6 separate regions of the Homo sapiens genome follow, and regions 1, 2, 3, 5 and 6 are each linked to region 4. Evidence: promoter capture Hi-C in 16 types of primary human blood cells and fetal thymus (Javierre and others, 2016). All regions are on one chromosome and are shown on one strand. Each heading gives the region's core, a stretch centred on a gene start or on the middle of the fragment in contact. The rest is flanking DNA. Distances are from core to core; before and after follow the strand shown.

Region 1 (4,337 bases), core at 1,643-4,142, 370 kb before region 4:
TTTTGATGGAAAATAAAAATTTAGTTTTAAAAATACATTGACAATGATTTCCTTATATTCTCTTAGAAAACTTCCCCAGTGTTGGTTACCTTAATAAGATAACTTTTTATGTATTCTTTTATCGCTACCTAAACCATTAGACTTGTGGTTTATCAGAATTTTCAGAGGCTCTCAGATCTTTTTCATTTCCTTATAGTTTATCATTGTTAACTTTAGTGATATATTTGATTTTATTTTAATATCAACAGTAATTATTAGAATGTTAATTTGAAAGTGTATATGTCATGTTAATTTAACATTTCAATAAGACTTCCCTGAGGAGTCATTCAATAAATCAGGATTTACCTTTAAAGTTCATGAAATGTAACTGAATATACCCTGATATGACAAAACCTAAACTCCCAGATAAGCCGGCAACCAGCTAGCTCAGTTGGTTAGAATATGGTACAAAAATTCCAGATAAAACAAATTTTACATGTTATAATTACCTTTACCTCAAAACCTACCTATTGGCTGGCCAGTTAAAGAAGCCATATAAAGTAGTGTACAAAGCAATAAATATTTCGTTAAAGGTAATGTTTTTGTTTTCAGTTTTTCTACTTGTATTATACACTCATAAAAAGCAGAGGTTGTTAAATGAAGTTCATAAAGCATTTAGGTGGTGTCTCATCACTTTTCATTATCCTGTGACATCTCTATTCTTCATGTCTAATATGAGGTACAAATAAAAATGAAACCAAGATAATTTTATGTCAATAGCTAATTTTTATCTTGCAAGAATAATTTTTAAAAGTGCTGTGGGCTTTATTTAAGGAAGGCTTTCTGCAGAATTCACATTGCTACTGCTTTGCAAAGGTGAATGGAAAATAGATATATTTTCCATTTACAGATACAAAAAAACTAGGGCACAAAGAGTGAAGGTGACTTCCCAGAACATAAAATCACAGGAGCCAGCAGTCTCTTGGCTCCTGTGGCATAGTCATTAGATTGCCATATTATATTCATTTTCATATACCTTCATTTCACCTCTTAGACAAGAATAAGCTGAAATATACCAGAAAGGATATTGCCTTTTTTAAACATTGTAATATTGCCATGAATCTTTACCACTCAATTTAATGTTCGAGCAATTCCTCTGTTCAGGTTTGTATTTAATGGCTCTTAAATTACTCTTAGTATTTCTGATTTGACCAATAAAATGTGAATTTATTTAAGATATAATTAATAAAAATGGACATCGTAGGGTATATGCTTGACTTAATTTCAAATCCAAAGATATTTTATGTGTATGTATAATATTAATCTTAATAACTATTATTTTATGTTTTGTTTACATTAGTCATATATGCCTTTTCATGGATAATCTTCCAAGAATAAGCTAAAATTAAATTAGGAAATTAAGAGGTGAGCCAGTCTCATATGCCCTCTTTTGTATGGTCGAAGACCTTTAATTCTAATTTGTAATAATAATGCTCTTCAATTTGGTATCTCTTTGGCAATGATAGCTTAACCAAAATTGTGTTAATATTTACACATTTGTATTCTTAACTGGCTTCTGTTAGAGCTTATATTTTGAGATTTTGCAAAATTAAGGTAATAAAAAGTATATTTACATCACAATTTACTGTAAATAACTAATTACTTTTAAGTGCCTCATGTAAAGCCAGAAAAATGACTAGGAGCAATATTTTCAGATTGTAGCAATTTGATATTTGGGAATATAGGCCTTGAAACAAGGGACTAAGAAGTCACACTTGTTAATACTTTCATAACAAGTTGTTAATTTGGTGGTTTTTAAATATAGGAAAAATTATTGGAATCAGATAAGCAAAGGAAACAATTGACAGAAGAGCTCCAGAATGTGAAACAAGTAAGTATATGTATTGTGTATATATGTGCTCGTGTGTGTGTGTGTGTGTGTGTGTGTGTGTGTGAACATATGAGGTATAATTATAAAGCAGTGGTTCTTTACAATATCCCAGAGCTTCCTGATACATATTACATAATACAAAATAGCACAGAGCTTAAAAGCAATCACTTTTGGAGGCTGTACCTATGCTAAAGTCTTGCTACTATTGCTCAAAACAATGTTAAAACCTCTTTGAAATTTCTTTGAAAAAAACATATCCATAGACCAAAATAACCAATCTCATTACTTCTCCATTGTTTTTTCTTTTCTTTCATTTCCCCTTTTTTCTTTTTCTTTTTTATTTTGTTACTCATACTTCATTTTACTAAAGAACAAAAAAGTCATCAAGGCAGAGCATTTTTTACATTTATTTGTTAATAATAAAAAGCAAATATTTATTTTCACTTTGCATTATTCTTCAAAGAATTTGAGGTAGCTCACTATAAAACAAATATATGACAATATCATAAAATGAAAACCCAAATGACAAAATATAAATAAGAGAACATTGTTAGAGATCAACAGTGATCACCTGATTTTGAATCTCCCTCACACAGTCCCCCTAGAAAACATAAAATCAACAAAGAAAGCAGATAGAACCATACAGGACCCATATTTTGAATATGACTATGTGACAAAAAAACACCACAGCCTTTAAAGTACATATAAATACAACAAGAAAAATAATAATTCCAACAAAACTTCTGAAGCTTGCCTTTACTGAAACCTGGAATACAGAGAACAGAGGAGGCAAGGCTTGAAAAATTCTGAAATAAAGAGTAGAGAGAAACTATGAATTAGATGAAGAACAAACAAAATCACCCCCAGAAAGAGAAAAGGTAAACATAAATGCCAAAATACTGGCCGTATGTCAAGACTTGGTGGTTCTTAGCACTAGCTACAAAAAAAGAGACTTCAAGGTATGAATGCAATCAAAAATGGCAGCCTTGAAGAATCATTGTTTCTGAGGAAGAACCAGATCAATAGAGAATGGATAGAATTCCTTGGAGACTTCGCAATGATAGGAAAGAAGGAAATAAGAAGGGAAAATTAAGGAGCTTATAGAAATGAAAGCAGAACACAACTTATTAATCCACCCACCCTACCCTATGACCATCAAAACAAGATCCATAGAAGAAACTGCACAGAAGAGAGTGCTCTTGAACTAAGAACTTTTTCTGTGAAATAAAAAAGTATAGAACAAAAATTCTATCTCCATCATTATAAAACGACTGAAAAAGTCAGATGATATCAATGAAAGCTTTCCTCCTGATGAAAACTTTCCAAAACAATTTAACCACAAAACTTAAGAAAAATGTAACGTCACACTCCATACTCAAGGGAATTTCCTCAAATAAGCATTTGGGCTATGAAAAACACATCTCAAATGAGAAACTTAAAAAATAGTAATAATAGATATTGATCACCCCCAAAAAAATCAGGAAAAAGTGAAATGAGAGTTGATAAAACTTAGGAAAGAAGGAAGAGACAAAATCCTATCAGAAATGAAAACTAAATTACAAGTTGCTCCAGGAAGAATATAATCAAGTGAAAAGGCAATGAAGAAAACAAGAAAAGCAACTAGGAAAGTGAAAATATAATCAAGAAGTAAAAGAGTTTCTTAAAGAAATCAATCAAAATAACTGAACAGCCTAATACTTAGAACTATAATCCAAGAAAACTTTCTATAATTAAAACAAGACCTGAATCTAATATAGGTACTGGGGAAATCTGACCTGGAAAGATTACTGTACAATATATTCTAGTAAAATTATTAGACTTTAGAGGAAAATAAATGCACACTGCCTCCAAGTAAAAAGATTAAGCAACTTATGAAGGCAATAGAATTAGACCAGCATTGGGTTTCTCAAAACAACATGCAAAGTAAGGCAATAGTGGAACAACATTTTCAGGACATGAAAGGAAAGAAAGAAAGTATACAAAAATGTTTTATATAGCCAACCTGACTTTAAAATATCAAGGCCATAGAAAACAGTTTGTGATATACCAGTACTAAGGGAATATTTCACACATGATATTCCTGAAGACCTTCAGATAGGATGAGTTTTATCCAACTAAAAAATGCCTAAAATAACTTTGGAAAATGTTCCCAAATGGTGAGAACTTCATATATTTTATTGTACAGGTGAGACTAAAATGAGTCAGTGCATGGATGAAAAAAATAGCATGAACATTACATGTGTTAACAAAAGTCAAAAGATGCAAATTTTTTAATGGGAGGATAAGAAAGAAAAAAGAGGAAAACAGAATACATCATTTTGTTATATAAGCAAAGCGTAGCAGTCAATAAATATTTAAAACTGATATCAGATAAAAATTAGGTAAAAATAGAGGAGATAGCAAGCACTTAAAAAGTAATAATGGAAAGGTAACCTATAGAATGAAAATACAAACCTTCATAAACACC
Region 2 (4,052 bases), core at 636-3,135, 390 kb before region 4:
AATGATTATCAGAAGGAGAATGCTTTAAAAAAAGTTCACTTCAGACAGTGTACAAACATAACAATTTTAAAAAGCATGCAATATTTGTAAAATGTACAGAATAGAAAGGAGTAATATATTGATAATTATTAACACTATAGTGTGACAATTTTTGCAAAAAATCCACAATTTATATAAATTTATAGGTACTATATTCATAGAAAAAAACCTGAAAAATTAGACACCAATTGTTAATATGGCAATTGTCTTCAGAGCAGTGGTTCTCAAGGGCAGGGCTGCAGTTTTTCTTCTTGGGACATTTGGCAGTGTCTGGAGACATTTTTGGTTGTCACAGCTGGAAGATAGAGACCAAATTCAAAATCAGTAAAGATACTTCTTAAAACCTCATGTATGAAAATTTAAAACATATTTTAAATAATTTGTGAGTCAAAAACATTGCTAATAAACATGTAAATGATGTTTAATTGCACTTGTAATTAGGGGAATTCAAATTAACAAACAGCATACTATTTCAAATACAACATTGACAAAATAAGAGTGGAAACAGCAGATGCTGTTAAATCTCAAAAAGGAAAAAAAAGAATGTAGAAAAATAGAAATGCTTATTCACTACTGGTGTGCATAAATTAATGAAGCCAGTTTGGAGAACAATTCAACAATATCTAATAAAATTGACCATATGTCCCCTATGGCTTAGCACTTCCTTTTCTAGGGATATAATGTAGAGAAATTTTCACACATTTTTACAAAGAGACATGTATAATGTTCTGTAATTTAAAAAAAAAAGCAGATTGGAGTAGTTATAAAAGCCTGTTAATCAGGGAATGGATAATAAATTACAATAAATTCATACAACGGATTACTGTTCACAGTTAAAATAAGTGAACTAGTTTTGCAGACAATATTGAGCAATTATGAAATCATAAAATTGAGGTAAAAATAAAAATAATTTGTAGAGTTACTCTTTAAGATTATGCTTTTGAGGTAAAAGCTTAAATGCACAAAATAAGAGTACATATTATTAGGGGATACTTGCTTATGTAGTAAATGTCATTAAATTAAGACCAGGAAGAATACTTAGGATAGTAGTTCCTGCTGAGGAATAATTTATAAAAACTTTTAACCGAATATATAGTTTTATTTATTGAAAATATATACATAAATTTTAAGTACATATCAATGAGTAATTGATGATAGTGAGTATATAGGTGTTCTTTGTATTATTATTTTTTGTGTTTATATTTGAAACATTTTTATAACTGAAGAGAAAAAAATACAGAAGCTAAAAATCATTATGCCATGTTATACAATGCAAATACTTGACTACTATACGAGATAAGCAGATGATGCTAGACTAAGCTTAAGAATCATTTTTGAAAGAATCTTTCCTGATATTCTTTCTCCATTCTTCTTTCATTGTTCCCAAATTGCTCACTTACAGATTAACCAGTTGCTTTGTGTATTAATATACCCTATACATACTTCTATTAAATTATGTGTTTTACTTATTTCTTTACAGTTGTTCTCACCCTTGAGACCGTAAACTCTTTGGGGTGAGAGACTATATTTCATTTATCTATCACCTATGCATAGTTTAGTGGCTGACAAATAGTAGGCACCAAATAAATTATTTGATGAATGAATTACTAAATGATTGAACGAGATTCTAAAGGAGGAAGAAATATGTAAGAGATAATTACCAATACTAAACTTTGCCTACATTTTAGTTTTGATGTGATCGACACTATATATGCTCTTGCCATATCCAATAATAGGACATCCAATTAGTCCCTTTGTGTTAGTTAAGATTAGATTTTGCTATATATAACTGGCGAACTCAAAATAACAGTAGTTTCCTTTAGAAATTTCTTTCACACCAAAAAGAAGCCTGAAAGAAGGTAATCCAGGGCTGCCGTGGAGGTTTCAGAGTATCAGGGACCATGTTCCAATTATCTTTCTGTTCCACCATCTTTACTGCGGTACCACATGAACCAAAAGAACTGCTCAAATTCCATCAGTTCCTCTTTCTTTCCTTCCTTCCTTTCATCTTTTTTCTTCCTCTTTCTTTCCCCTTACTAATCCGCATGGACAAGAAGTGCTTACCCCGACTTTTGAAAGGAGACTTCCTAATAGTACTCTATGGCACTTCCCCTTGTATCTCATTGGCTAGTACCTAGTTAGTTACATGGCCGCATGGAGATGTACAAGGGGCTGGGAAATGTCTTTTAGCTGCATGGCAGTGTTTTCAGCCGAAAATTGTGGTTGGTTCGGTTACTAAGGAGCAAGGAGAGAATGGACATTGGAATACAATTAACAGTCTCTGAATTTTTAATCACTAATGGATACCAAAACGAGAAAGAACTTTTCCCTTAAGGGGAAGAGCCTGATGAAAGAGAGAAGTAAGTGGCAGAGAAAGCTTTTTAGTTTACTATTTGTGTAAGCCTGCCCCTAACAAGCCAAAAATTAGAAGATTTTATGTTGAACCTAATTCCTATCAACTTCAGTTCTGCTCTCAAAGGCAAGATGTTAACCAAATATAATTCATGTTTTAGAGTGTCACTTGTAAATCTGATGTAGTAGGATTCTTTTGCCATTTTACATGTGCCAAATCATATAAACTAAGAAATAGTTTGATTTTTGGTTCTAGGACAATGTCATAAATTTGGTATTAGCTAAAGTGCTAGTCTTGGGGAAAAAATGAGGTAGTAGTAAAATCAGGAAGCTAATCTTCAATAGGCACTTAATCCATAAAGAGCTGACTTCCCTTGGGTGTTTAATCCTGGTCGACTGTTTCTGGTATTGATTATTTTCCCTGGGTTGTAAAGTTTGTAATGAAAAGTTTTATTCTTTGGAGATTTGAAAAATTGCTTTTCATGAGTCCTTTATCTTCCAGGCTCTAAATTATCTTGGTATTCAGCCCACAAAGGAACAACACCAAGCCCTGAGACAGCAAGTACAAGCAGACTCAAAAGGGACAGTGTCTTTTGGAGGTAATATTAGGTTTATTGTGTTGTATTATCACTGAATCATCATTCAAGAGTTATGGTGACACATTTTCATTAAGAGTGTTTGTTCTTTAGAAGGAGAGAATGAAAAGTAAAACTACATCCATTTCAAGGTCCTTAATCAGTACCCAAAGAACTCAGCTAGAATTACTGACCTGGCAGGGTCAGCAGAAAGAAGAATTTCATTAGGACCTTTCAGCTCTAAAATATCATCATTCTGTCATATTCTTTTTATTTTTTATTTATTGCATAAACATTGCTTTAGTAATAACAAAAGAAACAGTACAAAATATGGAAGTTCTAATTTCACTACTGTGAGATTAATTCGAATCCTTTTTCAGCTAATATAATATAGTAAATATTTTTATGATGCTACCTAATTAGAGTCATCCCTTGGTATGGGAGGGGAATTGTTTCCCGGACCCCTGCATATACCCAAATCCAGCCATACTCAATCTCATAGACAGCCTTGCAGAACCCACATATAGTAAAAGTTTACCCTCCACATATGTGGCTTTTCCAACCTGCAAATACTGTATTTTTTATGCATTTGGTTGAAAAAACTTGATGTATAAGTGAACCTGTGTAGTTCAAGCCTATGTTGTTCAGGGGTCAACTCTATTCTTATTAAAGATACCATAATGTACCACTTAGTTATTGTACTATAATATTAAGCCTTTCTACTATTGTGAATTTTGATAGTTTCTCAGTAGCTGATATTACAAATCTGTATTTATCAACATTATGAATGTAGCTGTTTTTCTTTCTTAAGCCAAATCCTCACAAATGATTTGGACTTTTGATACATATTGGTAAATTGTTTTTCAGAGATATTTTGCACATATATTCGTTCCACCACCAGTAATGTTTGAATATAACACTTTTTGTCTTCTTGTCACTATTAAGTAATTTTTTTCTTGTATAATAGATGTAACATTGTATTATTTATAAAGCATCTGTATTGCTGAAAAAAAATTGACCTTTTGGTTTTTAAGTGATGAAAAAAAGATATTTTTCATCCCATCTCCACTTGAAAATCATCCCAAA
Region 3 (4,155 bases), core at 1,366-3,865, 420 kb before region 4:
TCCTACCTACCATATTAAGAATTCTTTACCACGTAAATTTATTCATGCAATACATGAACCATTCCATTTTACTCATAATATATGTTACCAAACCAGACTTTAATCAAGAGATTTTGCTACTGAGGTTGTCTAAGATTTTACTTTTTACTCTTTTTGAAGGCATTCTTCACGAAAACTTTTCATTGCTTTAATTACATCAATTAATTTTTTTTTAAATACCTCATTAGTTCCTTTATAAATGTTACTGTTTTTGTTAGGATGGTCGTTTGAAGCCAGGAGATCAACTTGTCTCAGTCAACAAGGAATCTATGATTGGTGTATCATTTGAAGAAGCAAAAAGCATAATTACCGGAGCCAAGTTGAGGTAACTATACTATCCATGAGATAGAATGAGTCATTTAGAATGTCTCCTTGAAAGCAGTAATTTAAGATGTATTAAGTACTTTATAATAAGTATTTTTTAATAACATCTGAAACATTATCTTGGATTTCAGTTGTACTATATTCATAGCATATCCATAAAGTGATTTCTTTTTAGTACTAGGTTAGAATCTGCTTGGGAGATAGCATTCATAAGACAAAAATCCGACAACATTCAGCCAGAAAATCTGTCATGTACATCACTTATAGAAGCTTCAGGAGAATATGGACCTCAAGCCTCAACATTAAGTCTTTTTTCTTCTCCTCCTGAAATACTAATCCCAAAGACCTCATCCACTCCCAAAACAAATAATGACATTTTATCTTCTTGTGAGGTAAGTCAGGTAATCTTAAATTTCTCTATATATGCACTCCATAAATTCCCTATACATTTTTACATTGGTTATGTACATATAGAATTATTTCAGTAAAATTGTTAACAAATTAATATTTCTTTGAAAGATTTTTTTCTATTTAAAATTTTTATGCTGTGTTTTCAATAAACATATTTTAAGTCAGCATGTCCTGTGTCCAGGAGCATGATTGGTTAGAAAATACCAGCATGACAAAATGGTTCCACAAAGATATGCCTAGATATCACTCAAAACTATGTTAAGAATGTCATATTTGGTTTCAGTTGGTTTAGTTATTTGCCATTTCTGTTCTCTGCTTGACTGAAGTGAGGCCATCTTCCTTTTTGTTCCTTAGCTTCTTTCCCACACAGTGAGGCTAATCCCAGGCATCCAATCTAAGAAGGTATTGCTCCTTCATGTGTGCATGCTATAGTTCACCCAAGTAGAATCACACAAAATGGGGAATTTCTATATCAGAATTAACATACTCAATTACTAACTGCTATATTATCTGAACAAATTACAGTTACAGAATAAAGTGTGTATTATTTATATCTGTGTTAGCTGTAAAATAGGAAACTTAAGCTTTTAGTCAGTAGAATAAAATTCATCAAAGGTAACTTCAGTCTCTGGTACATGCTGAACAGAGACAGAGTATAAGATTTTCTGTCAGCCCCTTATACTTTGTCACTTGGAGCTATAATACTTTTAAAAGACAAGATGAGTGGCCTTATATTTTGTTATCCTTGGATGTGGTAGAGCTGAAAGCAATTGTTACCTTTAATTCTGAATTGCTTTGTTTGAAGATGCATATACCAAAATTTTAGAGGTTTCATATTTGAGGGATAATTACTTTAATCTCTTTAACCATTCTTTTTATGTTAACATGGGCTTCAAGTGACCTACTTTAGTAAATGACATTGCATGTTCCTCATTTTCTTTCACAGATAAAAACTGGATACAACAAAACAGTACAGATTCCAATTACTTCAGAAAACAGTACTGTGGGTTTGTCTAATACAGGTAAATACACATTTAATTTCTATTTCCTGTTTTTTATTTCAATTCTCTCTCAATGAGGAGTGTGTAATGTGACTTAAGACTTTGAAGAAGGGTGAATTATGTCTTTGTTCCTTCAGTGAACGAAAAAGTAAAAATAATGTCTTTCCGTTGGGCCCTGTTAAAGTATGACTTTTATTAGATATTTCCCTGAACAAAGAGTTGAAGTTTCAAAAGATGCATTGTCATAACAGTGTTTATGAAGCTGTAATAATTAATGAATTGTTTAAATCAAATAATGGAAAGTCTTCTATAAAGATCAAGATTAGGTTGCCATGTCCTTTTAGTGCAATACTGATGAGGCATATTAAATACACCTTTCGGAAAACACATTATAGAAGGGAGCATACCTTAAGAAAAGAAATGTATCTTGTTTTTTTGGAAGAAATCATATGGATATCAATTATAAAGGGTGTCAGTATTGTTAATTCATTATTATTGATTCTTAATTACCATAAAATGATTTACTGACTTTTTAAAACAATAAAGCGTTAATTATCTAAGCCAAATGTAAAATAAAGATTTTTATGTGGCTATAAGGTGCTTACAGGATCAATACGAAGAAAAAAAGCCCCCTGAAATTATCTCCAAAAGTTAAACACAACAATGATAAAAAGACTAAACATAACTGAAAAACTAATTATATATGCCTAATTATAAGGTAAATTTTTACCTGTATATTTTAATTTTGTTTTAATAGCATTATTTATATAAGAACTGAAAAATAAGGAAGCATTAATTTAAATTAAATAGCTACCAATCTTTTTTTTGAGATGGATTCTTGCTCTGTCGAAGTTCCGCCTCCTGGGTTCACGCCATTCTCCTGCCTCAGCCTCCCAAGTAGCTGGGATTACAGGCGCCTGCCACCATGCCCGGCTAATTTTTTGTACTTTTAGTAGAGATGGCGTTTCACCATGTTAGCCAGGATGGTCTCGATCTCCTGACCTCGTGATCTGCCTGCCTTGGCCTCCCAAAGTGCTGGGATGACAGGCGTGAGCCACCGCTCGTGCCTGGCTCAATAGCTACCAATCTTTACAGGAGTTTATACTATATTCCACAGTAGTTTCCTCCGATTTGGGGTGGTATTTACCAGTGGGTTAATAGCAATCTTAAGCCATGAGTTATATTACCTTTTACTTAGATTTATTGACCAACTTTATAGCATTATTCCTCTTACATAATTAATTTCCAGTCTCTGCATGTACTGTATTTATTTTAAACTGGGAACCCTTATGAGAAGAAAAAGACAAATGAAACAGTCATGAGATGAGCATCAAAATTGCTAGATGATGGAAGTCAGAACCCTTTATTCCTTGATATTATAAAATATTAATAATTATATAACATGTTTTTAACTTTTAAAGTAATTGAACTATTCAATGCCTATTTTAACCTTTTATTCAGTAAGGTTTTACTATGTTATATGTGTAGAATACAGTACAACGGGAATTATGAAGAAATTAGGATATTTTCTGTGAGATACTTAATAGTATATTGTGAAATAAAACATGGGGCTAAAAATTATAATTATTGAAATTAGGAAACATTCTAATTTATATGCATGTATTTGTTTATAGATGTGTGTGTATGTTTATTTTATCAAGCAGCTACTATTTGCAGTTTTTTGTGTTAATCAGAGCAGGATATGGGTGGTTTTGTTACTCTAAAAAGCATTCTGTCTTGTGGATGAATAACACATTTACACAAATTATGTAAAGACATGAACAAAGAGGCCTAAGGAAGGAAGTAGTGAGTGCTATGAGTATGGTATAAGGAAGGCACAGTGGTTACCACCAGGCTCTGAATACAGACTCAGTGTTCAGGTTCTTGCTTTCATCTTATTAGCTCTGTAACCTTGAAATAGTTACAAGTTACAAGGAGTTGTTATGAGGATTAAACAAGATCTTGCATGTCAAGCACTTATATTGTAATTAGTGCATAGTATATGCTTACTAAATTTTCCTGTTACTAATAATATGGAACCTATAGCTTAGAGTGTAGCTCAGATAATATTCTAGGTCATGTTTATAGAGCAGAAGGAAAGCTTCCAATTCTTGATTCAATTTTATGTCCTCCCCTTGACCCCAAAAACTAGTATATAATAAGGAATCTGTCACAATATGCAGAAATTAAGAAAAATTTCTTGGCAAAAGTCAGACATTATCCAAATCTTGAAAAAAGTGGTAAACATCAATTGATAACTGAACACAGGAGATCGTTTCAAGTTAAGGAAGCACCACAAATAAAAGCATAGAACTAAGGATGAGCTAGATGTCAGATGATTCTAAGAGTCAGGTGTGATTAGAGCAGAGATCTTGTTAAC
Region 4 (4,083 bases), core at 409-2,908:
TTGCCACTGTTCTCTGAAAACAGGAAGAGCACAGACGTGTAGAGAAGTAAAACCAAATCAAACCGCATGCACAGGGCTTCACTGATCATGACTGGAGTGCATGTTACATTCTCTCTAAAAGCCCCTCCGGTCTTCATTTCTGACATCAGGTTCTAAAGTCAGAACACTACGGTTCCATTTTGCCCTTAGACACACCGGTATGAAGTTCCACTGGGGGAACAGTGCCAAGCATTCAACACCCTGACTGATAAGCAATATATTCAGAAGTCAATCCAAGTCTTCAAGCTGATCCCCTTCCTGGTGGCCCAGACCATGGCAACTCTTCTGTGCATTTGTTGCCTCCTTTACCCTTTGGGACTGGGGGAGGAATGAGATGGGTGAGAGGGCAGTGAGGGCATGGAGATTGGAAAGAAAAAAAAAATGTGTACTTTAAAATTCTGAAATAAAAGGTAGTGTCTAAAAACTCAACAACCTTCTTGGAAGATTTCATGCATTTCTTAAAATTTCCCCTGTCACTGCACCCCCAGCAAACATGCTGGTGGTGAAGGTCCGGGAATTCACACAAAGGGATGCAGTTACCATATGCCCTGGAGAGGTGAACTTTCACCCACTTAAACAGAAAAGAAAAGCCCGGAGTTCCTCTCAGAGTCATGGGCTAACCTCCATCCATTGTTAGACGGTGGAGCCCCAGAGGGGAGTAAGGCCACGGCGCCCCCCAGCCCGGCATTTCCACCAGCTCTACAGTGAATGAGCAGTCGGCCAGCCTTCCGGTGGCGCCTCCACGGTTCCTCCTCCTCGTTTCCTAACACCGGCGCCTCCACAGCAGGTCTCGCCACCCGAAAGCTAACATGCCCCTTCGCAGAGCCCAAAAATAGCACCGCCCTGGGACGTTCAGCTGGAGAACCAGCAAGGCCCCTACACGGCCAGGCAGGGCTAAGCTGGCGGAGCGTGCCTCAGTTTCCCTGTTGCTAGGGCCGTTCACAAAGCACCCAAAATGCCTAGCACCCCGCTTTACGACAAATCTCTCCGCAGGGCGCCACCCCGTTCCGCGCGCCCCGGGAGACCCCCACCCTGGAGGTAAAGGGATGGAGGCCAAAGCCAGGTCGGAGGACTCGGGGGCGGTGCCCGGGGCTGGGGTTCGGGTTCCCAGAGAGAGCCAGAGCCCAGCCTGTATGGGGGTCGGGAGGGTGAGCCCCAGGAGCAAAGGGATCCCCGGGAAGGAGGACAGGCTTGGAGTCCCGGGGCCGGGAATCCATCTGAGGTCCGCAGATCGCGAGGGGAGACCCGGGTGAGGCAGGAGCTCCCATCCTTGGAGGAAGGGGATCGCCCAGGGACAGCAGGGTGGGGAATCCCCAGGGAACTGATCCCTGGCCAAGGTGCGGGATCCACCCAGGATGAATCCAGGTGAGGAGCCGGGAGCCGTGCGCTTAACGGCGGGATTTGGGAACCCGCTTCTGACACGGGCAGCGGGACCGGGACGCCATCCCTCTCACCGCTGGAATCGATTCTTGAACCGCATTGATCCTCTGCTCCTCCTCGGGGGCCAGGAGCTCCGTCTCGTCAGCACCGGCGGCCGGGCGCGCGGCCCTCATGGGCTTGGGCTGCTCCGGAGGCCGCCTGCGTGTCCAGCGGAACCCTTCGGCCGGGTAGGGTCGGAGTGGGCCAGGCCGGGGGTCGGGACAGGGCTGGGGCCAGACCGGGCGGCTGGGGGCGGGAGGGAGGCCGCTTCAACGGCCCCAACACCTCCCGCCTCCCGCCTCCCGCCTCCCCGGCTCCTCCGCCCCGGGGCTCCTGCGCCCCGCCCCGGAGCCCGGCTCCGCCCCCGCCGGCTCTGTTCGCCTGCGTGCACCCGCGGTCGCCGGCGCGTCAGCGCGCCGGTCAGCCAATCGGCACCCCGAGCGGCGCGGCGGCTACGCTGCCATTCATTCCCGCCGGGCTCGGGCAGCGAGGCGGGGCCTCGCTGGGGAGGGGCGGGGCGAGGGGAAGGGGAGGAGCGCGGGAACGCGGCGCCCTTCTGTAAGAGACAAGTTGGAGAAGAGATCGAGGGAGGGAGAGAAGTGGTGAAGGAGGAGATGGACCAGGAAATCTTAAAAGCATTGTGAAGAAAATAGCAGCAAACAAGCAGCCCTACCTCATTCATTTTTTCTTCATCATTAATTTCTCCATCCCTCCTTTCATTTATTCCTTCATCATTTTGAGGGCCAGCTCCCGCGAGGCTATTGTGAGAGGATCCAGGGCAGAATGAAAAACCTGTCCTTGTCTGACCCTTGAGGGAGTTGAGATCTCTGAGCGTCTTCTAACTCTGAGATTCAGTGAGATCCACAAAAGGAGGAATCCTCTGCAAGGATCCTTTTATGTTATCCTCCAGTTTATTTTTTATTTTATTTTATTTTTATCCAGGCAGCTTTCAAATAAACGAGTTGACTTGAATCAGGGTCCTGTCGCTAAACCTAAACTCAGAGGGCTTCCTGGAAGAGAAGTTCAAATAAAAATGAATGAATGGGCCAGGTGCTGTGGTTCATGCCTGTAATCCCAGCACTTTGGGAAGCCAAGGTGGGCGGATCACCTGAGGTCAGGAGTTCGAGACCAGCCTGGCCAACTTGGTGAAACCTTGTCTCTACTAAAAATACAAAAATTAGCCGGGAGTGGTGGCGGGCTCCTGTAATCCCAGCTACTCGGGGGGCTGAGATGGGAGAATCACTTGAACTTGGGAGATAGAGGTTGCAGTGAGCCGAGATTGCACCACTGCATTCCAGCCTGGGTGACAGAGTGAGACTCTGTCTCTCTCTCTCTCTCTCACACACACACACATACACACAGAATGAATGAATGGGTGATTTGTCGAGCCTTTCCAGGATCACTGATGGAAGTTATATGTGTTCCCTTCCAGGTATCGTGTCCATACCCAGCCCCCAGCCTGCAGGCTAGAGACTCTGAAGTGGCATGAGGCCAGCCTGCTAGGAGTGCTCATTCGACCTACAGTAAAGCATTGGAAAGCCAGGGAATTCTGTCACCCATAATTCTAGTTCCCTTTCCTTGAACCTTCCAGAGAGGTGCTTTCCATGCTTCAATCTTCCCAAGAGCTCCTCCAGATGGGCATTATCCAACTTATTTTACAGATAAGGCTGAGGCTTATAGTGGTCAATAAACTTGCCAAAGGCAAAAGTAAGGCTCCTACCTACCTTTCGCTAACTTTAAAGACCCACCTCCTTTCAGTACGTCAGACTATCTCTCCCTGTTTTAAAGCAATACACTTCTCTAAAACAAAACAAACAAAACAAAACTTCATCTACCCGCACCCTCAACACTAAATCGGGAAAATGAACCTGGAATGAAAGTCTGCTTCTTATCAGCTATGTTGGGCCACTGGGCTAAAACATCAGTGCGGGAGGGGAAGGTAACAAAGGAGATAGCTAATAAAGATAGATGAAAAATAGCCATGTGTAATAACATAAGAAGGGTTAAAAAATAAAACAAGGAAGCTCAATTGTAACAGATGTACCACACTGTTGGGGGATTTTGATAACAGGAGAGGCTATGTATGTGTGGGAAATCCCTGTACTTTACTCTCAATTTTTGAGTGATCCTAAAACTTCTCTGGAAAAAAAAAAGTCTTTTTTTTTTTTTTTTTAAAGGGCCAGGCACAGTGGTTTGCACCTGTAATCCCAACACTTCGGGAGGTCTAGGTGGGAGGATCGCTTGAAGCCTGGAGATTGAAACTAGCCTGAGCACCAAAGCAAGAGTTCATCTCTAACAACAACAACAACAAAATTAGCCAGGTGTTGTGGTAGGCACCTGTAGTCCCAGCTACTTGGGAGGTTGAGATGGGAGGATCACTTGAACCTGGGCCACAGAGTGAGATCCTGTCAAAAAAAAAAAAAAAAGAAGGAAGGAAGGAAAGAAAGGCAGTGCTGATATATGTTACAACATGGATGAACCTTGGAAACACTATGTTAAATGAAAGAAACCAGTCACAAAGAACTGCAGATTGTATGATTCCATTCATACAAAATTCCATTTATATGTCCCAGAACAGGCAAATCTATAAAGACAGAAAGTAGATTAGTGGTTGCCTAGGGCAGG
Region 5 (4,204 bases), core at 1,705-4,204, 350 kb after region 4:
TATCAAGAATATTGATTATGCTATAGAATGGCCAAGATTTGTTGGCTTCTTTTATTTGTGCTGTGTTTTTCTATCCACTAGACTCTGTCCCTGGGCAATAAGCTTTCAGTGGAAATTAATCGGTTTGACTTTTTTCTAGAATTTTATACCTTATGAGTTAGTGGTTTATCATAACCTAAGAGGTCATCTTTTTTTTTTTTTTTCTTGAGACATGGTGTCATTCTGTCACCCAGGCTGGAGTGCAGTGGTGCAATCATGGCTTGGCTCACTGCAGCCTTGACCTGCTAGGCTTGGATGATCCTCCTACCTCAGCCTCCAGAGTAGCTGGGACTACAGACATGCACCACCATACCTGGCTGATTTTTTTGCTTTTTTTTTTTTTTATATATAGAGATGGGGTTTCACCATATTTCCCAGGCTGGTCTTGAACTCCTGGACTTGAGCAATTGACTCACCTTGGCCTCAAAAAGTGCTGGGATTACAGGCATGAGCCACCATGCTTGGCCTAAGAGGTCATACCCTTATTAGTTGTAGCTAAAAAGGCTTCCAGATGCATTAACTTCTTTTGCTTTCCTTTAGAACTCTATGAACAAGAATGCAACGGAGAGACTGTGGTCTACTGGGAAGTGAAGTACCCTTTTCCCATGTCCAACAGAGACGTATCCTTTCCACAAGGTACTCATTCCCTGGCCCTCTAAGTGTTTCTGTGTTCCTCAGCTGCAGTCTATTGCAGAGAGGTAGAGCTGGTTTCTCAGCAGGCACAGATAACATTGTCTCTGATTCTTGCAGCAGCATTTGCTAAAGATATTGCTTCTTGTATGGTGTTTGGAGAGCTCAGAGTGTGATTTCTGGGCCCAACCACATGAAGTGTCTGTAATTTTGGTCACTGGAGAGCAGCTCTTACTTTCCTAAGAAGTTTCCTAGGCCTTGAAATTGTCAGGCCACAGAATTGGGGATCTGGAAGGAACTTCTTATAAAAAGTGCTTGTTACAGCTCCCTCAGTCTACAGAAGGAAAAAGGGCTCCCAAAGAGGTGATAGGACAGAGGCACATAGGTGGTTAGTGGCAGAGCAGGTGCTGGAACTCAGGCCTCTGCATTTCCAGCTCTCTCCGCCTCCCCCATCTCAGTAGACCCCACAGAAATCCCTCCTTGATTGTTGGCTCTGGACACTGACTGTAAGCTTCTTCCCCTCAATGTCCTTGTTTATGAAATGAAGCAGTTGAATGAAATGTAGGGAGGCTTGGCTGGCACTGTAAGGTCTTCAGAAGCCCCCTTAGGACTAAGCTGGGGGGCTAGGATGGAATTTTGGGGGTGGGTAGGATGGAAGTAGGATGACTCCTAGGTAAGATTTTGACTCCTTCACCATGCTCTTCAATCCCAGCAGCGGAGTGTTTTACAGGTTCAATTTCCATGTAAGATCCTTTTAGCAAAGGGTCTCTTGGAGTCAAAAAAAAGTTTGGAAGCCACTGAATTAGATGAACTGCCAACACTTCAAAGGTGTTCTGCCAAATTTTAATCACTATATCAAGATAATTCTTCCTCCGTGGAGTATCAGATGATATCTATCACATGAGCTGAGAAAGTTGGGGGAGAGAGTGGAACAATATTTGCTAAAAGGAAAAAGTAAAAGGTGTAGGAGAAAGGAACCCAGTGACAAATCAACATCTCTTTCCTGAAACATTTAAGAACTTTACTTATTAGTGTATAAGAGCATGGAGCAATAGACTGTCCAATGTGAGGGTGGGGCAACAGGGGGCGCTGTCAAGACACTGAGGTGGGACTGAACGCGGGTGGCTCACGCCTGTAATCCCAACACTTTGGGAGTCCAAAGTGGGCAGATCACTTGATGTCAGAGTTCGAGATCAGCCTGGCCAACATGGAGAAACCCTGTCTCTATTAAAAATACAAAAAAATTTAGCTGGGTGTGGTGGGCGCCTGCAATCCCAGCTACTCCGGAGGCTGAGGTGGGAGGATCACTTGAACCCAGGAGGTGGAGGTTGCAGTGAGCCGAGATCGTGACACTCTACTCCAGTCTGGGTGAGACTCTGTCTCAAAAAAAAAAAAAAAAAAGACACTGAGGTGGGTGGAGGCTGAGACGGCTGCCATGTTATAGTAAGTGTAATTGTGTTGTGCGTAGTGACTTTTTGATTATTTTAGGTTTTTGATTCCTTTGAGTGGGAAACCCAAAATTCTGTTTTATGAAAGTGTAACTAACAAACTAAATATCTGAGCTCCATCCAACTATGAAATTCTAAGTAGGTTTTGGAGCCAGATCTGGGATAAAAATTCATGTTTCATCACTTCAGCTGGGATGTGGGATTTTTGGCAAGGTTCTTTTCCTCTCTGAGCCTCACTTTTGTCATCTGTAGTATGGGGATACTCATACCAAACTCACAGGGTCTTTGTAAGGATCCAAATTTAAGCTGTATGTCAAGTGCATGATGTTACATGATAAAGGCTCGATAAGTAGTGATTCCTGTTGTTTCATAGACTTTCATTATCCTCCCTAGAATAGTGCCGTAAACTTAAGGGTTCTTCTGTCAAGGCTGATGGACATGAAATGGTTTTGTTATTCTTGGTAAACTAGTGTTAGCCCAGAGAGGACATCTGCCTACGAAATATTCATGTAGTCCCATGTCTTCCTATGGTCATCAGCTGTAACATTGCTTGACCATTTACTATGCATAAAGGTCAGTAATTAGAGCATTGGGTGAGGCCAGAACAAAGAGGAATGACACCATTGTCTGTCGAGTGCTTACTCTGCCCAGGTCTTTCTCTAATGCCCCCACCAAGCCTGTCTGCAAGGCAGTGTTACTCCCTTTCCTACATAGGGAATCTGAGTCTCAGCAAGGCTGAGTAGCTTACCTAGGACCACACAGCTGTTAAGTGACCATTCCTCTGTCATCTCCCAGTGCCTTCTTGGAGAAAGGAAATGTGGTTTCCTCACATAATTAAAAGCATGAAGGGATCACTCACAGGTAAGTAATACATGCTCTTTGGTGAGAATACTAGGTGGTGTGAGGCACAGTCTTGCAGTGCAGGTATGGAGACAGGGCACGTCAGTGAACTAGTGGTAGAAAGGAGCAAATGCCAAGTGGGAGGCACAGAATCACCTCCCTTTGCTTCCAGCTTGTGGCGCTTTCCTTCTGTCTGTCTACAATGCTGGCGTTGGTGTCTTGCCTTAACTGGCTATGCAGTATGTCTACCTTCGGCAGCGGCGAGACCTGGACATGGAAGGGAGGAAGATCCATGTGATCCTGGCCCGGAGCACCTCCATGCCTCAGCTTGGCGAGAGGTCTGGGGTGATCCGGGTGAAGCAATACAAGCAGAGCCTGGCGATCGAGAGTGACGGCAAGAAGGGGAGCAAAGGTAAAACCCATGGTGCCTGTCAGTGCACCCAGCCAGGGGTCCCCCACGGGAGGGCCAGGCTGATGGGGGGACATGTCGAGTACATGAAGCGTATCCCTGAAGGTCAGAGGACAGGCAAAGCTGCAGAGCAAACCAGGATCAGCACCTAGAGAGAGCCTCATTCCACCCCAACAAACTTGAGTAGAGTATGAGGTTGATGTTTAACTCTGACCCAGTCTATTTTCTCCAGACTCATGGATTGTCCAGATGAAACCAGACCATTATAAGTAAGCCAGAGAGTTTAGAAAGTCACTTCCAGCTGGTCCTGTGGATACATACGCTGGGCCTAAGGGTAGGCAAGAAAGCTGGCAGGTTTGTCTTGGAGGTCTCAGCTCTGGCTCAGTACCAACTCAGAGCTACTCAAGACCTGCCCAGCTTGAGTTTCAGCCCCCAGGGAGGAAAGCTGCAGACAGAGAGTGGGGTGCGAGGCCACCTGCTCTACCAGAATGAGTGTGGCCTTGAGTCCTAGGCAAAAATCTGAACTATAGTTAGATGGTCACCTTGAATATGTCACCTAATTTTTATGAGTATCTGTTTCATCAGTTATAAAATGGGATTAATTTTACCATCTCCTTAGGATTGCTAGAATAATTGAATGAGAGGCTATATTCAAGTGTCCAGCACTTGCCAGGTATTTAATAAATAGCAGCAAAATGTGTCTATGGCTGTTTTCAAAAGTGCCTATATTTAAGTATGCCATAAGGGCAGTCAATGGAGAGAAGTCCATCTGAATTATATGCTACCTCCCTCTGCAGTTTCTGAGCTTGAATATGAAGATATAAAGTTTGCACAGTTT
Region 6 (3,915 bases), core at 1,040-3,539, 440 kb before region 4:
GTTTTCCTTTTGATTCAGTTCTAGGAAGTCAGCACCAATCAGCCTTAGGCTCCCTGCCTCCAGACCCTATTCTCCTGCCTCACAAGGTCACTGTGAAGGCAACTTTAAAACACAGTAGAAACAGGCTTGTCCCATCTGTGGCCCATGGGCTGCATGTGGCCCAGGACAACTTTAAATGTGTTCCAACACAATTTCGTAAACTTTCTTAAAACATGAGATTTTTTTGCGTTTTTTTTTTGTTGTTGTTGATGATTTGTTTTTAAGCTCATTAGTCAATATTAGTGTTAGTGTATTTCATGTGTGGCCTAAGACAATTCTTCCTCCAATGTGACCTGGGGAAGCCAAAAGATTGGCCACCCCTGCTATAGAAGTTCACAAAAGAAGATTTGAACAAATAGAAAGTGATACCAAATTCCTGGATAGGAAGACTCAAAATAACATCATAGATAACAATACTTCTTCAATTATTTGTAAATTTAGTGTGATTCCCTTACAAATAGCATTGTTTTGTTTTTTAAACAAGATAAGAATACTTTGAATTTAATGTGTAAAAATAAACAACCAAAAACAACCAGGGAAACTTGGTTAACAAAAGAACAAATGAGAGATGATCGGCCTTACTAGATATGATAGTGCCTCTGTAATTAAAATAGAATGGCATTGGTGTACAAATAAACAACCTAACCAAAGGGCCAGAATAAAAATTACAGAAGTAGACCCAAACACTTAAGAGATTTTGTATATGATGAAAGTTGTATCTCAAAATGGTGGGGAAAAGATTTAATAAATGTAGTTGAGACAATGGGGTGGTCTTCTTGGGAAAAATATGAGTTGGATCTGTGCTTTATATTATGATGGATTCCAAATGGATCAAATATTTAAAAATGAAACCATAAGAGTACTGGAAGAAAATATGAGAGAATTCTTTATAACTTTGGAGTGGGCAAGGAGTTTCTAATTTGACCTAAAACCTGGAAATCATAAAAGATTCATAAGTTAGCCACAAACTTTTGTGTAACAAAAAGCCCATAACCCAGAAGAAAAGGGGGGAAAATATATTTGCAATTCTTAATGCTGATAGAGAGATAATTTCTGTAATATTTAAGAACTCCTAGAAACTGAACAGAGAAAGACCTAACGATAAATAGAAGAATTGGCAAAAGATGTAAAAAAAACACAGTTCACATAAAAGAAGATACTGAATGGTTCTTAAAGCATAAAAAAACTCTTCTGCCTCACTCCAACTACCTTGAGATACCATTTTCATCAATAAAACTGGCAAAAATCCAAACGTTATTTAGTATACCATAGTGGAGAAAATTTAGAGTAACAGGCACTATAGTTGGTGAGATAGTAAATTAGTACAACCCTGACTGAGGGACATTTGGCAATTTGTATCAATTTCATTATGGCATTTTTGTAATTTCATTAAATTAATATTTACTATAATTTCTGGCAGAAGATATTTTTATCCCTTTTATTTTCTCTATTTTTTGTCCAGTGAAAAGAACTGGTTTTATTGAATACCATGTCTGAGAATATAAATTACTAAGTCTTACTCAAACACCATATGCGTTATGGACAGATTTTTTTAATCTGATGAGATTTCTAATTACATGGGATGAAGATTGTTTTAATGAGATCATAAGTAAACAGACTTATCAAAGAAAAGCTCTAATTTAAGTTTTCTGGAATAGATTCATCTTTAACAACAAGATTTTTTTTCTCCAATGTTCCACTTTCTCTGTTTTTGCTGACCTGTTTGCCTCTTATGATTCACCAAACTAGAATAACAATATATTTGTCTTCAATGTTCATATTTTTAGTAAAAGAACAGAATGTTTTCCTTCTGTGTTATTTATTAATTATGGGAACTTGAGGGTGGTTTGTGTGTGTGTGTGTGTGTGTGTGTGTGTGTGAGTGTGGTGAGTATGTGTATGTAACATTACTGGAATCCCTGTTGGCTGAGGGCCTTGCAAGTTTGTATAAAGAGAGAGTAGGAAGCAGGCAAAGGAGAGGGAAAGGACAGGCATTTTATGATATTTAAGGACATGACAATGAATACCACTGTTGGGATGGATAAGATTAAACCCACTTCTGTTTAATCAATAGTGTCATCTTTATATAAAAGAGATAACACATTACCACTCCTTACTCTCTCATTCCACTTTTTTGGTGAATCAAACTTTTTACCTGAATTAATTTTCCAGCATACTGTAGTAGAAACAAACAGCTTGGGTTTGGAGCAAGAAAGAGCAGGGTTCAAACTCTACTTTACAACTAGCCTGTGACAATGGACAAGCCACATACTTTCTGTATGACTTATTTTTCTTTTGTATAAAATTGGGTTAATAATACCTCCCTTGTGGGGCTCCTGTGGGAAGAAAATCCTGTAACATGGTGCCTGGCTGTATTCGTGTTTAATGATGACTTAGATCCCAGGTTACGCAGCCTTTCTCCATACTCCCTGTGTATACTGCTGTCAGAGCACTTCACCCCTCCTGATCTCATCTCATCTTTGGCACTTAGGACACTGCCAGCATGTTAAGTGAATGGAATAAACACCTAAATTTTATTTTAAACCTTAAAATAGAAATGTTTTAAAATGTCTTGTTAAGTATATTATATGGAATCTATTGTAGAGTAGCATTTATACATCATTAGGCTTGAATATGTTCCCAGGGGACCTGGGGACCTGTGTCCAGTTAGAACAACTCACCAAAGATGAGGATCTTACTCACTTTGGTACCAGTAGAAAGACTGCTCAGTTTTTCACATCTGCTTTTGAGCAAGGTGTTACTATTCTTACCTTACTTAATAGGAGGAGATGCTAAGAGGTTAGGCAATTTTTCTAATGCCATATTACTAGCCCATGGCAGTATTGCCATTTGAACTCTGCATTTCTTTTCTTTTTTTTTTACTTATGTCTAGTACATTTTCCACAATATTAAATAAATACATTTGGAATACATAGTGTGTGAAACATAGTGCCAATTAATGGTAGTTGCTATTATTGTTATTATTTGAGAATGACCTCTCTTGAGGTTTGAGAATCTGCTCCATGCGTGTATCATTAAAGCAGTCTATAATGAACTTATGCAAACTTAGTTTTAGAATTGAACTCTCTTCCATGACTATATCAGTCTTGTGGACAGCTGCAGTGGCTCTTGACTCTGAGAGACTACTAGTCAAAGCCCAAGGATTTTAAGCTCCTCCCTCAGGTGGCCCTTCTTTTCCTCATGGGTACTGAATAACTTTCTTACTTCATGGTCATTGGACTTTTGCTACTGACATTGTGGCTTGGTGGCTTCATTTTTCTGGCTGCTGTTGATCTGCATGCTTCCACTGTTCCTGTTGCTTGCTACTACAGAGGGCGTGAAAGTCGAAATGTGTTTTTACCACCCAGACCAGTGAATACATTGCTATGTTAGGGTCTCAAAAGTAGTTGGCTCTGTGTTTGGGGCCCATTCAGTTAATTTACGGAAGAATCTATGATTTCTTCTGCATACAGTGGTTGAAGAAAAGATAGGATGATCCTCTTGATTTTAGTCTTTAATCTCTCAGTTTTGTTCTCCCTAGAACTTTTTGTTTCTGAGTCTTCAATTTCTCTGGGACTCTCTTTTTCTTTTTTCTTTTTTTTTTTTTTTTTTTTTGAGACGGAGTCTGGCTCTGTCGCCCAGGCTGGAGTGCAGTGGCACGGTCTTGGCTCACTGCAAGCTCCGCCTCCCAGGTTCACGCCATTCTCCTGCCTCAGCCTCCCGAGTAGCTGGGACTACAGGCGCTGCCACCACGCCCGGCTAATTTTTTTTGTATTTTTAGTAGAGACGAGATTTCACCGTGTTAGCCAGGATGGTCTCGATCTCCTGACCTCGTGATCCACCCGCCTCGGCCACCCAAAGTACTAGGATTACAGGC

What was found. Contacts are between HindIII fragments. The CHiCAGO score rates a contact against its expected background, and 5 or more counts as called.
Region 1: a fragment that was not itself captured here is called in contact with the fragment with the promoter of MMD in region 4 in 3 of 17 cell types (erythroblasts, total B cells and naive B cells); the score reaches 5.4 in erythroblasts.
Region 2: a fragment that was not itself captured here is called in contact with the fragment with the promoter of MMD in region 4 in 1 of 17 cell types (total B cells); the score reaches 5.8 in total B cells.
Region 3: a fragment that was not itself captured here is called in contact with the fragment with the promoter of MMD in region 4 in 5 of 17 cell types (total CD8 T cells, erythroblasts, total CD4 T cells and 2 more); the score reaches 7.8 in total CD8 T cells.
Region 5: a fragment that was not itself captured here is called in contact with the fragment with the promoter of MMD in region 4 in 1 of 17 cell types (monocytes); the score reaches 6.0 in monocytes.
Region 6: a fragment that was not itself captured here is called in contact with the fragment with the promoter of MMD in region 4 in 10 of 17 cell types (non-activated CD4 T cells, total B cells, naive CD8 T cells and 7 more); the score reaches 11.9 in non-activated CD4 T cells.

Annotation. Positions count from the first base shown.
Region 1 is chr17:55,045,285-55,049,621 of GRCh38, forward strand. It overlaps STXBP4 (syntaxin binding protein 4), which reads left to right. Exons shown (of 18, transcript NM_178509.6): 12 at 1,805-1,870. Among named protein-coding and RNA genes, the nearest start is that of STXBP4, 79 kb to the left of the region's middle. The HindIII fragment of the contact is 551 bases long and covers 2,618-3,168 here.
Region 2 is chr17:55,028,275-55,032,326 of GRCh38, forward strand. STXBP4 (syntaxin binding protein 4) reads left to right here. Exons shown (of 18, transcript NM_178509.6): 9 at 2,894-2,990. Among named protein-coding and RNA genes, the nearest start is that of STXBP4, 62 kb to the left of the region's middle. The HindIII fragment of the contact is 1,057 bases long and covers 1,358-2,414 here.
Region 3 is chr17:54,999,088-55,003,242 of GRCh38, forward strand. STXBP4 (syntaxin binding protein 4) reads left to right here. Exons shown (of 18, transcript NM_178509.6): 5 at 258-364; 6 at 545-755; 7 at 1,721-1,796. Among named protein-coding and RNA genes, the nearest start is that of STXBP4, 32 kb to the left of the region's middle. The HindIII fragment of the contact is 2,518 bases long and covers 1,357-3,874 here.
Region 4 is chr17:55,420,177-55,424,259 of GRCh38, forward strand. It overlaps MMD (monocyte to macrophage differentiation associated), which reads right to left and starts at 1,659. Exons shown (of 7, transcript NM_012329.3): 1 at 1,494-1,659. The coding sequence starts at 1,519. RefSeq lists a silencer at 1,600-2,059. The HindIII fragment of the contact is 12,161 bases long and covers 1-4,083 here.
Region 5 is chr17:55,770,527-55,774,730 of GRCh38, forward strand. It overlaps PCTP (phosphatidylcholine transfer protein), which reads left to right. Exons shown (of 6, transcript NM_021213.4): 3 at 580-659; 4 at 3,198-3,369. Among named protein-coding and RNA genes, the nearest start is that of PCTP, 22 kb to the left of the region's middle. The HindIII fragment of the contact is 3,553 bases long and covers 1,179-4,204 here.
Region 6 is chr17:54,980,708-54,984,622 of GRCh38, forward strand. All of the region lies in intron 1 of STXBP4 (syntaxin binding protein 4), which reads left to right. Among named protein-coding and RNA genes, the nearest start is that of STXBP4, 14 kb to the left of the region's middle. The HindIII fragment of the contact is 5,509 bases long and covers 1-3,915 here.